Linked DNA regions of Homo sapiens: all the other regions are linked to region 1. The links are contacts of gene promoters, found by promoter capture Hi-C in blood cells and fetal thymus (Javierre and others, 2016). All regions are on one chromosome and are shown on one strand. Each heading gives the region's core, a stretch centred on a gene start or on the middle of the fragment in contact. The rest is flanking DNA. Distances are from core to core; before and after follow the strand shown. Region 1 holds the start of SAE1 (SUMO1 activating enzyme subunit 1). Region 2 overlaps ARHGAP35 (Rho GTPase activating protein 35). Region 3 overlaps ARHGAP35 (Rho GTPase activating protein 35). Region 4 holds the start of DHX34 (DExH-box helicase 34).

Region 1 (2,867 bases), core at 107-2,606:
CGGAGTTTGAGACCAGCCTGGCCAACATGGTGAAAACCCATGTCTACTAAAAATACAAAAATTAGCCAGGCATGGTGGCGCGAGCCTGTAATCCCAGCTACTCAGAAGACTGAGGTGAGAGGAAGTCTTGAACCCGGGAGGCCAGAGGCTGCAGTGAACCGAGGTCACCCAACTGCACAAAACAAAAGACGTCCTGGCGCGGTGGCTCACTCCTGTAATCCCAGCACTTCAGGAGGCCGAGGCGGGTGGATCACTTGAGGTAAGGAGATCGAGACCAGTCTCGTCAATATGGCGAAACCCCGTGTCTACTAAAAATACAAAAATTAGCCGGGCGTGCTGGCGGGCCCCTATAATCCCAGCTACTCGGGAGGCTGAGTTAGGAGAATCGCTTGAATCCGGGAGGCAGAGGTTGCAGTGAGCCGAGATCGCGCCACTGCCCTCCAGCCTGGGCGACAGAGAGAGACTATCTCAAAAAAAAAAAAAAAAAAAAAAAGAATTCCCTAAGCTACTCCACAATGCCCAAACTACGTCTCCTGTCCTATCAAGACACAGCCCCATACCAAACACAAGCAACCTTTTCGGGAGCCTACGGCCGTCCCCCTCCAGCCTCTCCGAGCCTCTCAAGATTCCCATTTGAGATAACTTGCTCCAAAACTCCTCAAAACCCGCATTCTCTCAGACTGGCCCGCCCGTGAGCTCCCACAAGAGTGTAAGCTCCCGTCTGTCCGGTTGGCCAGTCCAGTCTCCCCTGTGTGCAGCACGGAACCAGGTCCCATACCCTCGAATGAATGAACTGCGTCCCTCACCTCACCCTTTCCACGTATCCCCAGCCCCTCTTATCCCCTAACCGCGATCAAACCCCACAATCACCGCTTTCGGGCCTCGGATTTCCTGAGTTTGAATTCTCCCGCTCTCTCAGGACTCCCCAACGCCCCCTTCAGAGCTCCCATCCTTCGGAACGGCCCTCCCAACCACTTCCCAGACCTTCCAGAAACATCCCCAATCAACTCCTCCAGTCCCCCCAAGAGAGAGACGATCCCAGAGCACAGAATTCCCGCCTCCTCCCTTCAAATCACACCTTCCCGCTCCTTCCGGGCCGCAAACGCCTCAGAATAGACGCCCCCTCCAGACCCTAGCGGCCTCAAGCCGCGCCGGCCCTGACCGTTTCTGGGCCTCCAGTCCCCACAGGCGGATCTGCCGGTCATACTGTGCCGCCTCCTCCTCGCTAATGCCGCCGCCAGCCTCCTCCTTCTCCACCATGGCGCCGGCTCTTCCTGCCTCAGCTCCGGTCCCGCTCAAGCCAACCGCCCGCCGGACCCGCGCGCCACCTACCGCCGCCGGCAGCACGCCCGGAGTGCTTCTGCGCATGCGCAGACCCTCCCACGCCTGCGCAGTACCTCGTCCGCGGAGCCTGGGACCAAAAGTACCTCACGAGACTCAAAGGCGATCCGGCGACTGCATGTCACGTGACGGAGGGTCCAACCAATCCTAGCCCCAAAAATGGCGCGGCTTAAGGCCCCGAGGGCGTTGCCCACGTGGTCACTTATGTGGCACTTAAATTCTGCAAATATTTAAGGAGTGCATACTGAGATCCCAGCAATAGGGATGTTGTAAAATAACGGTATTGAGTGAAATCGACAAAGCCCTGTCCTCATGGAGTTTACGATCCAGTGAGAAAAGCCCGAAGAGAAATAAATATAAACCCAGCGATGATAAATGCTTTGGAGAAAAATAAAGCAGGACATGGGGCTACAGAGTAACAGGGGTGGTCAGGGAAGGCTTATCAGAGGTGACATTGAACTGTCAATTTTTTTTTTTTTTTTTCATAGAGATGGGGTCCCTCTGTTGCCTAGGCTGGTCTCCAACTCCTGGCCTCAAGCCATCCTCCCGCCTCTGCCTCCCAAAGTGCTGGGATTACAACCATGAGCCACTGTGCCCAGCCTTTCATGTCCCTACTATGTGTTGCACTTTGTGCCCAGCCCTGGACATACAATAATAATAAAAATGAACACATCTCTGCCTTAGAGGCAGTCACGGCCCAGTGGGAGAGAGGAGCGTTAAGAAAACAGGAATAGGCCAGGCACGGTGACTCGCACCTGTAATCTCAGCACTTCGGAAGGCCAAGGCAGGCAGATTACTTTAAATCAGGAGTTGGAGACCAGCCTGGCTAATGTGGTGAAATCCCGTCTTTAGTAAAAATAAAAAAATTAGCAGGGCATGGTGGCTCACACTTGTAGTCCCAGCTACTTGGAAGGCTGAGGTAGGATAATTGCTTGAATCCGGGAGGCGGAGGTTGTAGTAAGCCAAGATCATGCCTCTGCACTCCAACCTGGGTAACAGAGCAAGACTCTGTAAAAAAAAAAAAAAAAGAAAGAAAGAAAGAAAGGAAGGAAGGAGGGAGGGAAAGAGAGAGGGAAAGGAAGGAAGGAAGGGAAAAAAAAAAAAAACCAGGGATGGCCCCAGGTGGTCAATATAGGGAAACGCTATCTCTATTAAAAATACAAAAATTAGCTTGGTGTGGTGGTACTGAGTCTATAGTCCCAGCTACGTGGGAGGCTGAGGTGGAAGGATTTCTGATGTTAGAATCATAGGCTTTTTGGCAGGGCACAGTGGCTCATGCCTGTAATCCCAGCACTTTGGGACGCCAGGGAGGGCAGATCACGAAGTCAGGAGTTCGAGACCAGCCCGGCCAAGATGGTGAAACCCCCATCTCTACTAATACTAAAAAATTAGCCGGGCGTGGTGGCACACGCCTGTAGTCTCAGCCAATTGGGAGGCTGAGGCCGGAGAATCGCTTGAACCTGGGAGGCAGAGGTTGCAGTGAGCCAAGATCCTGCCACTGCACTCCAGCATGGATGACAGAGACT
Region 2 (2,867 bases), core at 120-2,619, 240 kb after region 1:
GGTTCTTTGTCTTTGTTTTTGTTTTTTTGAGATGGAGTTTCACTCGTCACCCAGGCTGGAGTGCAGTGGTGCGATCTTAGCTCACTGCAACCTCCACCTCCCAGGTTCAAGGGATTCTCCTGCCTCAGCCTCCTGAGTAGCTGGGACTACAGGCACACGCCACCACACCAACTTTTGTATTTTTAGTAGAGACAGGGTTTCACCATGTCGGCCAGGATGGTCTTGATCTACTGACCTCGTGAACTGCCCACCTCAGCCTCCCAAAGTGCTGGGATTACAGGTGTGAGCCACAGCGCCTGGCCATGCCTGGCTAATTTTTTGTATTTTTAGTAGAGACAGGGGTTTCATCATGTTGGCCAGGCTGGTCTCGAACTCCTGACCTTGGGTGATCCACCTGCCTCGGCCTCCCAAAGTGCAGGGGTTACAGGTGTGAGCCACCATGCCCAGTCCAAGAACAGGGTTTTTTGTTTTGCTTTGTTTTGTTTTGAGACGGAGTCTCGCTCTGCCACCCAGGCTGGAGTGCAGTGGCGTGATCTTGGCTCACTGCAACCTCCACCCCAGTGATTCTCCTGCCTCAGCCTCCTGAGTAGCTGGTACTACAGGCACGTGCCACCACCCCTGCCTAATTTTTTTTTTTTTTTTTTTTTTGTATTTTTAGTAGAGACAGAGTTTCACCGTGTTAGCCAGGATGGTCTCGATCTCCTGGCCTAGTGATCTGCCCGCCTCAGCCTCCCAAAGTGCTGGGATTACAGGCATAAGCCACCACACCCGGCCAAAGAACAGGTTTTAAACAACCTACACATTATCTTTTATGGTAAAATGAGCTGTAAATTCACATAGTACAGGAAAAGATAATGCTACATAACTAAGCAGATTTTAAAAAACAAAACATTTTCCTAAATTGGACCCCTGGGACCTTGAAATATAAGAATAAGCCTTACAAAATGTGCTTTCTCACCTTTATGGTGCTGAGTTTGTCTCCCTGGCAGGGATTTGGCCATCTACAGCATATATGCTGGTACAGAGCAAACCACAGCCACCGTTACCCAAGGGCATGAGGGAAGCTGCTGCCAGTGGAGCCTAAGAAGGTGTGAGCAGGAGCCTTACTTCTTGTTGTGGGGTGTGTGTGTGTGTGTGTGTGTGTGTGTGTGTATAAAATCAATATTTTATATATATATATATATATATATATATATATATATATATATATATATATATATATATTATTGATTGAGGCCGGGTGCGGTGGCTTACGCCTGTAACCCCAGCACTTTGGGAGGCCGAGGTGGGCGGATCACAAGGTCAGGAGATCGAGACCATCCTGGCTAACATGGTGAAACCCCGTCTCTACTAAAAATACAAAAAAATTAGCCAGGCGTGGTGGCGGGCGCCTGTAGTCCCAGCTACTCAGGAGGCTGAGGCAGGAGAATGGCATGAACCCAGGAGGCGGAGCTTGCAGTAAGCCGAGATCGTGCCACTGCACTCCAGCCTGGGCAACAGAGCAAGACTCCGTCTCAGAAAAAAAAAAAAAAGGCAAAGTACTAAGTACCAGCACAATGAGGGTTCCACTCAGCAGGCAAACTCAGACAAGACACTGACTTCTGTGGGTCAGGGAAGGCTTCCTGAAAAAAATAAAATCTAAGCCAGAGACCTAAAGAATGAAAAGGAATTAGTCAAGCTGCATTTTTTGTTTTTTAGGTGATCTTTATGTATTTTGTTTTTGGTTCGGTCGGGGAGGGTGTAGCAGGAGAATACCCCGATGAGAAGTGTATGAAACGGCCCAGAAGCATGGATTTTGGGGAGAGTTAGTCATTCCACATGGTTAGAGCACTGAGTTGAAGGAGGGAAGTGGGCAGATAAGCAGAACTTCTAGAGGCCCTTAGAGAGAAGCCCTACTTATGAACACACTCCCTTGGTGAAGTCACAGCCCTTGGAAGCTCTTGCTAGTCACAGCTTCTATTTCAATTTCTTACTCTGGAATAATTTTAGATATACAAAAAAGCTGCAGATGTTACAGAGTCCTCACATACCCTTCACCCAGCTTCCCCTAATGTTCACATAACCATGGTGTATTTGTCAAAACTAAGAAATTAGCACAAAAAACTAAACTACAGACTTTCAGATTTTACCAGTTTTTCTATTTATTGCCTTTTCTGTACCAGGATCCAATCCAAGATCCCACATTCCAGTTAATTCAAAGGCTTTTAAAAATTCCTTTCTTTACTTTGGAGCACCACGGTTTTATCATTTTCATCAGTTTCCATATATGCTCCCCCACCCCCCATCTTCACCAACCCACTGAGAAGGTAAATATATCCTTTCAGTAACGAGTAGAAGGTACCAAAACTGATGATGTGGAGTACAAACAACTGTTAGGGAGTCAAGAAAATTTAACAAACATGAGACGGATGTACACATGCATACATACACCCACACCAGTTACAAAATGAACCTGGCCTAAGATGCTGCTTCCACTATCAAAGAGAAAAGAAACTCAAAATTCAAGCAGACATGTTTCTGCTTTTTCAGTTTTGCTAGTAGTAAATCCTTTTTAATCTCTCTCTCTTTAAAGATCCCAACCAACCCAAGAAGTCAAGACAAAATCACCTGAACACTCAATCCATCCTTAAAATTCTAGCAAAATCATCTGGGATTTGGGAAGGGAGAAAACAGTGATTCATCCTCTTTCCCACATTTTCACTAAGGATTCTTAAGCATTAGGATAGAAATTCAATCATATCGCAACAATCATTATAAAGACACTTTTACCAGTATTAGTCATACTTCTTTCTGTTACATTTATAACCTGCATTCTAAGCCTCCTCCATCTCCTAAAACTCCCAAATCTACAACAACCTTGAGTAACG
Region 3 (2,867 bases), core at 271-2,770, 230 kb after region 1:
CTTTGGGAGGCTGAGGTGGGCGGATCATGTGAGGTTAGGGGTTCAAGAACAGCCTGGCCAACATGGTGAAACCTCGTCTCTACTAAAAATACAAAAAAATTAGCCAGGCATGGTGGCATGTGCCTGTAGTCCCAGCTACTTAGGAAGCTGAGGCACCAGAATCGTTTGAACCTGGGAGGTGGAGGTTGCAGTGAGCTGAGATCGCGCCATTGCACTCCAGCCTGGGTGACAGAGTAAGACTCTGTCTTGGGGGGGGGGGGTGGAATACAAAAATTAGCTGGGCGCGGTGGCAGGCGCCTGTAGTCCCAACTACTCGGGAGGCTGAGGCAGGAGAGTCTCTTGAACCCCGGCGGCAGAGGTGGCAGTGAGCCAAGATCGCGCCACTGCACTCCAGCCTAGGTGACAGAATGAGACTCCATCTATTAAAAAAAAAAAAAAAAAAAGTTTAAGTTCTACTTTTAGTGGAGATGAGGTTTCACAGTCTTGGCCAGGCTGGCCTCGATCTCCTGATCCACCCGCCTCAGCCTCCCAAAGTGCTGAGATTATAGGCGTGAGCCACCACGCCCAACCTACAGTGTTTTCTTTTTGTTTGTTTTTGTTTTTAAGAAGTTCAAAAAACTTCATGGTTCAAAAACCCATTTAATGCTCAGACATTTGGTGTTCTAATTTCCAAGCTAGGCCAGGAGACAAGAATCAGAAAGAGCCTTGTAATCTGTCTCCTAAACCTTTTCTTCTCCTCCTCTCATTTGGTAAGCCTATCCAGATTAGTAACTACTGAGACAGAGAGAAATGAAATAACTCAGCTAGATAGACAGGAACCCCAGTCCAGAACCCAGGTCTCCTGACACCACCCCCAGCTCTCGTCCCTCCACTCCCCCGCACTGCCCTGGCTGGAGAACAGGAACGCGGAGCATAGGCACATATGGTGGGAGACGCTGGGGGCAAGTCTGTGGAGGGTCCTGACACGCTAAAGACAGTCTGGACTTCATCCTCTGAGGAACCACAGGCTTCTGAGCAAGAATGGCTTGGTCAGGACCGGGCTGGAGAAGGGAATTCCGAGAGCAATCTGAGCCCTCTCCCCCGCCACCTCTGTCCTGCTGTTTCACTCTCATCCACTGGATAAACGCTTCCCATGTAAAGGCCAACTCCAACCTGGTCATAATAAGCATCAGGAAAAACAACTGCTTTACGATGGAATCATGGAAATGCTGACACAGTGGTGGTGTGAGATGCTCCTTTGAAAGGCCTTGTCAGGCCCAGTCTTTGTAATTTCATGGTGGCTCACAGGAAGCGCCTGGGAGCCAGATGCTTTCTGCCTGTGCTCAAGGCCATAATTTCCTTCCCATACTTAAACTGATGACCCTGTGTCTCGCTGACAGAAGATTAGCCAAAGGAACAGGGCAGATAAAGAAGAAGCAAAATCTGAGGAAAACTGGCTGATTTGAAAAAAAATTCCTAAGATTCTTCTTGAGATGAACAACTAAGAAAACTTCCAGATGAACATGATCTGCTGTCTCTGAATGAAAGCCACTGGAAGGCAGGCCAAGCTGGGAATGCTGGCAGCCAGCTCCCTCACGTCACAGATGCGGAAGCTGAAGGGGAGAGGGGAAGGCAGTCCCAGAAACTGCTGTCAGAGCTGTCTGTGCCCTAAGAAAGGCTTTGCGCCCACTTCCCACCCCCATCCCAGTGCTGTCTCTCCACACTCTGCAGAGATGATCACATTAATCAAGACCCTAGAGTCAAAGTGACTGGGAAGGGGACAAAAAAGAATGACATCCAGCCAGTCCCATTTATTAAAGCAATAATCTCCACCCCTCACTAAATGTATACTTCTATAAAATTCTGCTTGTATGTTCTATATGGCACCTAGCCACCACTCAACACTTCAAGATATATTTCAGAGAAAAAAAAAAAGGCGAATTTCAAACTATAAGTAACATATCCTGTTGGGGAGCCCAAAAATAACTAAGAAAACATTTGTGATCATACAAGGAACTGAATAAGTGCATTTTCTATAAAGTGCTAGCTTCATGATTTTCCTTTAGATAAGAGACCAAAATAGTAGTTTGTTCTTCCTTATCAATCGTCATTCCTTAGAAAGTGCTTGGCCAGTAATATCAGGAAGATCAACGAGTCATCTCTTATCACTGGTTTAGCCCTCGGACTTAAGAAGGAAATCAGGTCTGGCCTACTCTTCCATGACAGCTGTCCTAATTGCTAGAGGAAGTCACCTTGACCTCATATATTTGGCTGCTATTCAGAATACCATGTCTCTTGGTCCAAATTATCAAAAGCATACATTAGGTAACAACATACCTTTCTCAGTTACATATGCACAGAATGCCCAAGATAAACCCACTGAGTGGTTCCCTCCGTGGCCTCACCTCCCACTCCCTGGCTCTGAATGGCCCTGGGAAGAGCACAGAGCAGCTACTTTCTTTTGAATCGTCTTAAAATCAATGCACAACAACGTACATCACCATTATAAAAACCCTGTCAGCAGACCGACTCTGACTCCCACGGCATTTACTATGTTAAAATCTTATGGGAAACTTGTACCATAGCTAATATGATTACTGTGTGCAGAATGAAGAGAGGGTTTGGGGATGAGTAGGTGTCTCAACCCAGTTCCTTCACTATTGCATGTGTCTCCCCAATGCCGCAGACCACTCCCCGGCCCCTGAATCCATCTGTGATTTCTGCTTTCTGCTCAGAAAACCCACTGTCAAGGCCTTAACTTAAGAGAGCCTGTCAGAGCCTTAGCTTTGCCATCTCTAACACCACGATCCCTTCTGGCTATTACCGCTCCTCAAGGGTACAGGTGTGGGCACAGAAACATATATAATCTGTTCATACCAAAATGCGAT
Region 4 (2,867 bases), core at 198-2,697, 220 kb before region 1:
GACTTTCTCCATCTTTCTCATTAAAAAAAAAATGCTTTTTCAGGCCGGGCATGGTGGCTCACGCCTATAATCCCAGCACTTTGGGAGGCTGAGGCAGGCAGATCACCTGAGGTCGGGAGTGCGAGACCAGCCTGACGAACATGGAAAAATCCCGTCTCTACTAAAAATACAAAATTAGCCAGGGTGGTGGCACCTGCCTGTAATCCCAGCTACTCTGGAGGCTGAGGCAGGAGACTCGCTTGAACCCAGGAGGCAGAGGTTGCAGTGAGCCAAGATCGCACCACTGCACTCCAGCCTGGGCAACAAGAGCGAAACTCCATCTCAAAAAAAAAAAAAAAAAATTCATTTTTGTTTTTTTGAAACAGGGTCTCACTCTGTCACCCAGCCTGAAGTGCAGTGGCACAATCACGGCGTACAGCAGCCTCGACCTCCCAAGCTCAAGTGATCCTCCCACCGCAGCCTCCCAAAGTGCTGTGGATGACAGGAGTGAGTCACCACGCCCTTTCTCATTTTCTGTTTGAATCTTTTTTTCCTCCCTTTTGTCCTTCCAGTATTCACTCTCCATCACCACCTCTCTCCATTTCCCCATCTAATACTTTATCTCCCAATATCAGAAGCTTTAGTAATAGCTCATGCTTACTTACTCACATTAACACACAGACCTATCCTATCTGCATGATCTATTCCTATCCCACACCTATGTACATACACACACACACTTTTCTCACGACTGTCAGGCACTATGATCACCCCCTATTTTACTGAGCAATAGAGAGGCTAAGTGAGTAGCCGAGTGTTACATGAGCCACTCAAATCCAGGGGTTCGGGCTCCACTCCCTCGCTTTTCCATTTCTCAGCATCGTTCTCCATTATCTCCAGCTTTTGTGGGGTTCTTCCTATTTCAACTGTCTCCATCCTTCCGTATCTCTCGGTCTCCCCCGTGATTCAGTGTCTCGTTTCTCCATCTAAATTCCATTTTTTCTGTTTCTAGTGTCCACGATCAGTTTCCGACTTTTCCCTCCACTCCCCAAGTTCATGGGCGACCACGCCTCTCGGCCTCGTGGGCTCTAAGACTCTCGCTGGAACCCATCGGCACTCTCGCCCACGCTCTCTAGTTTTCAGCTTCCCTCCTCTCCCAACACCCTCGTCTTTCAGTCCCTCAGTTTCTCGAAGCTTCTTTTCGTGCCTCCATTTCTTTCGGTCTCTGGCCTGTCGCCCAGGTTCTCCCAGGGACGCTCAGGTGCCATCTCTGTCCGCGTTTGCCGGCCCTTCGGCTGCCTCCTACATTTCTCCTCATCTCGAGACTTCCCTCGCCCCTGGACTCGCACCCCAAACTACCCCCAAGCGGCCCAACTCCGACAGCCATCGCCGCCACAACCCGGTACACCCGTCCCGCCCCCCTCACTTACCACACGCCGCGAACGCCTTAACTTCCGGTCCCAAGAGCGCTAGTCTTGCGCCTGCGCACACAGCCATCTCGTTCTGACCCCGCCCCGCCACCACAGAAGAGCCAATCGGAAGCTCTGGGCTGCCCAAGACCCATCTTGCGCCTGTGCACAGCACGCTTCCGCCCCGCCTCGCTTGGGGCGGAGCCTCGAGTGATTGCGCCCTCTAGAGGCCAGTAGAGGCATTGCGGTACAGACTTGCAAGCGCCTCCTCCCCGGCCCCGCCCTCTCCTCCCCAAGCATAGCCACGTGCGCCTCAGCTCCGGGACGCCGGGGTTTTAACCCAAAGAGAGAGCTGGTCTGGGGCCCAGGAACTTTTTTTTTTCTTTTGAGACATAGTCTCACTGTCTCCCAGGCTAGAGTGCAGTGGCGTTATCTCACCTCATTGCAATCTCCGCCTCCCAAGTTCAAACCATTCTCCTGCCTCAGCCTCTCGAGTAGCTGGGATTACAGGCGCACACCACTACACCTGGCTGATTTTTGTATTTTTAGTAGAGACGAGGTTTCACGATTTGGGCCAGGCTGGTCTCCAGCTCCTGATCTCAAGTGATCCGCCCGCCTTGGCCTCCCAAAGCACTGAGATTACAGATGTGGGGCATCTCACTCAGCCTCTACCTCTTTTCTTTCTACAACCCCATTTTCTGTTACCTTTCTCTGCAATAAACTCAATCACACACATTCAGGAAGACCCCCAAGTATAGAAACAATCTCATTAGCCAGCAATGCACCCTCTCTTTTATTAACTGAAAGAAGAAACAGCTGGGCACGGCGGCTCACGCCTGTAATCCCAACAGTTTGAGAGGCCGGGGTAGGTGGATCACCTGAGGTCAGGCGTTCCACACCAGCCTGGGCAATATGGCCAACCCCTGTTTCTACAAAAAAATACAAAAGTTAGTCGGATATGGTAGTGTGTGCCTGTAGTCCCAGCTACTCAAGAGGCTGAGGTGGGAGGATCGATTGAACCTAGGAGGCTGAGAGACTGAGGCTGCAGTGAGCCATGATGGTACCACCGCACTCCAGCCTGGGTGACAGAGCCAGACTGTCTCAAAAAAAGAAAAAAGTGTTGTTGTTTTTTTTTTCTGAGACGGAGTCTCGCTGTCGCCCAGGTTGGAGTGCGGTGGCGCGATCTCGGCCCACTGCAGGCTCCGCCTCCCAGGTTCCCGCCATTCTCCTGCCTGAGCCTCCCGCATAGCTGGGACTACAGGCGCCCGCCACCACGCCCGGCTAATTTTTTGTATTTTTAGTAGAGACGGGGTTTCACTGTGTTAGCCAGGATGGTCTCGATCTCCTGACCTCGTGATCCGCCCACCTCGGCCTCCCAAAGTGCTGGGATTACAGGCATGAGCCACCGTGCCTGGCCAGAAAAAAGTTCTATGTCTAAAAAAAAGAAGGACTCTAAAGTTTTTGGCCTGAGCATTTGGA

What was found. Contacts are between HindIII fragments. The CHiCAGO score rates a contact against its expected background, and 5 or more counts as called.
Region 2: a contact is called between a fragment that was not itself captured here and the fragment with the promoter of SAE1 in region 1, in 1 of 17 cell types (M2 macrophages). The highest score is 5.7, in M2 macrophages.
Region 3: a contact is called between a fragment that was not itself captured here and the fragment with the promoter of SAE1 in region 1, in 1 of 17 cell types (M1 macrophages). The highest score is 5.4, in M1 macrophages.
Region 4: a contact is called between the fragment with the promoter of DHX34 here and the fragment with the promoter of SAE1 in region 1, in 2 of 17 cell types (neutrophils and erythroblasts). The highest score is 6.1, in neutrophils.

The regions. Positions count from the first base shown.
Region 1 is chr19:47,129,324-47,132,190 of GRCh38, reverse strand. SAE1 (SUMO1 activating enzyme subunit 1) reads right to left here and starts at 1,356. Exons shown (of 9, transcript NM_005500.3): 1 at 1,163-1,356. The coding sequence starts at 1,260. RefSeq lists enhancers at 1,036-1,275, 968-1,582. The HindIII fragment of the contact is 6,112 bases long and covers 1-2,867 here.
Region 2 is chr19:46,886,619-46,889,485 of GRCh38, reverse strand. The region is part of intron 1 of ARHGAP35 (Rho GTPase activating protein 35); the gene reads right to left. Among named protein-coding and RNA genes, the nearest start is that of ARHGAP35, 27 kb to the right of the region's middle. The HindIII fragment of the contact is 4,283 bases long and covers 1-2,867 here.
Region 3 is chr19:46,902,949-46,905,815 of GRCh38, reverse strand. All of the region lies in intron 1 of ARHGAP35 (Rho GTPase activating protein 35), which reads right to left. Among named protein-coding and RNA genes, the nearest start is that of ARHGAP35, 43 kb to the right of the region's middle. The HindIII fragment of the contact is 8,700 bases long and covers 1-2,867 here.
Region 4 is chr19:47,347,895-47,350,761 of GRCh38, reverse strand. DHX34 (DExH-box helicase 34) reads right to left here and starts at 1,447. Exons shown (of 17, transcript NM_014681.6): 1 at 1,410-1,447. RefSeq lists an enhancer at 703-1,607. The HindIII fragment of the contact is 2,372 bases long and covers 1,176-2,867 here.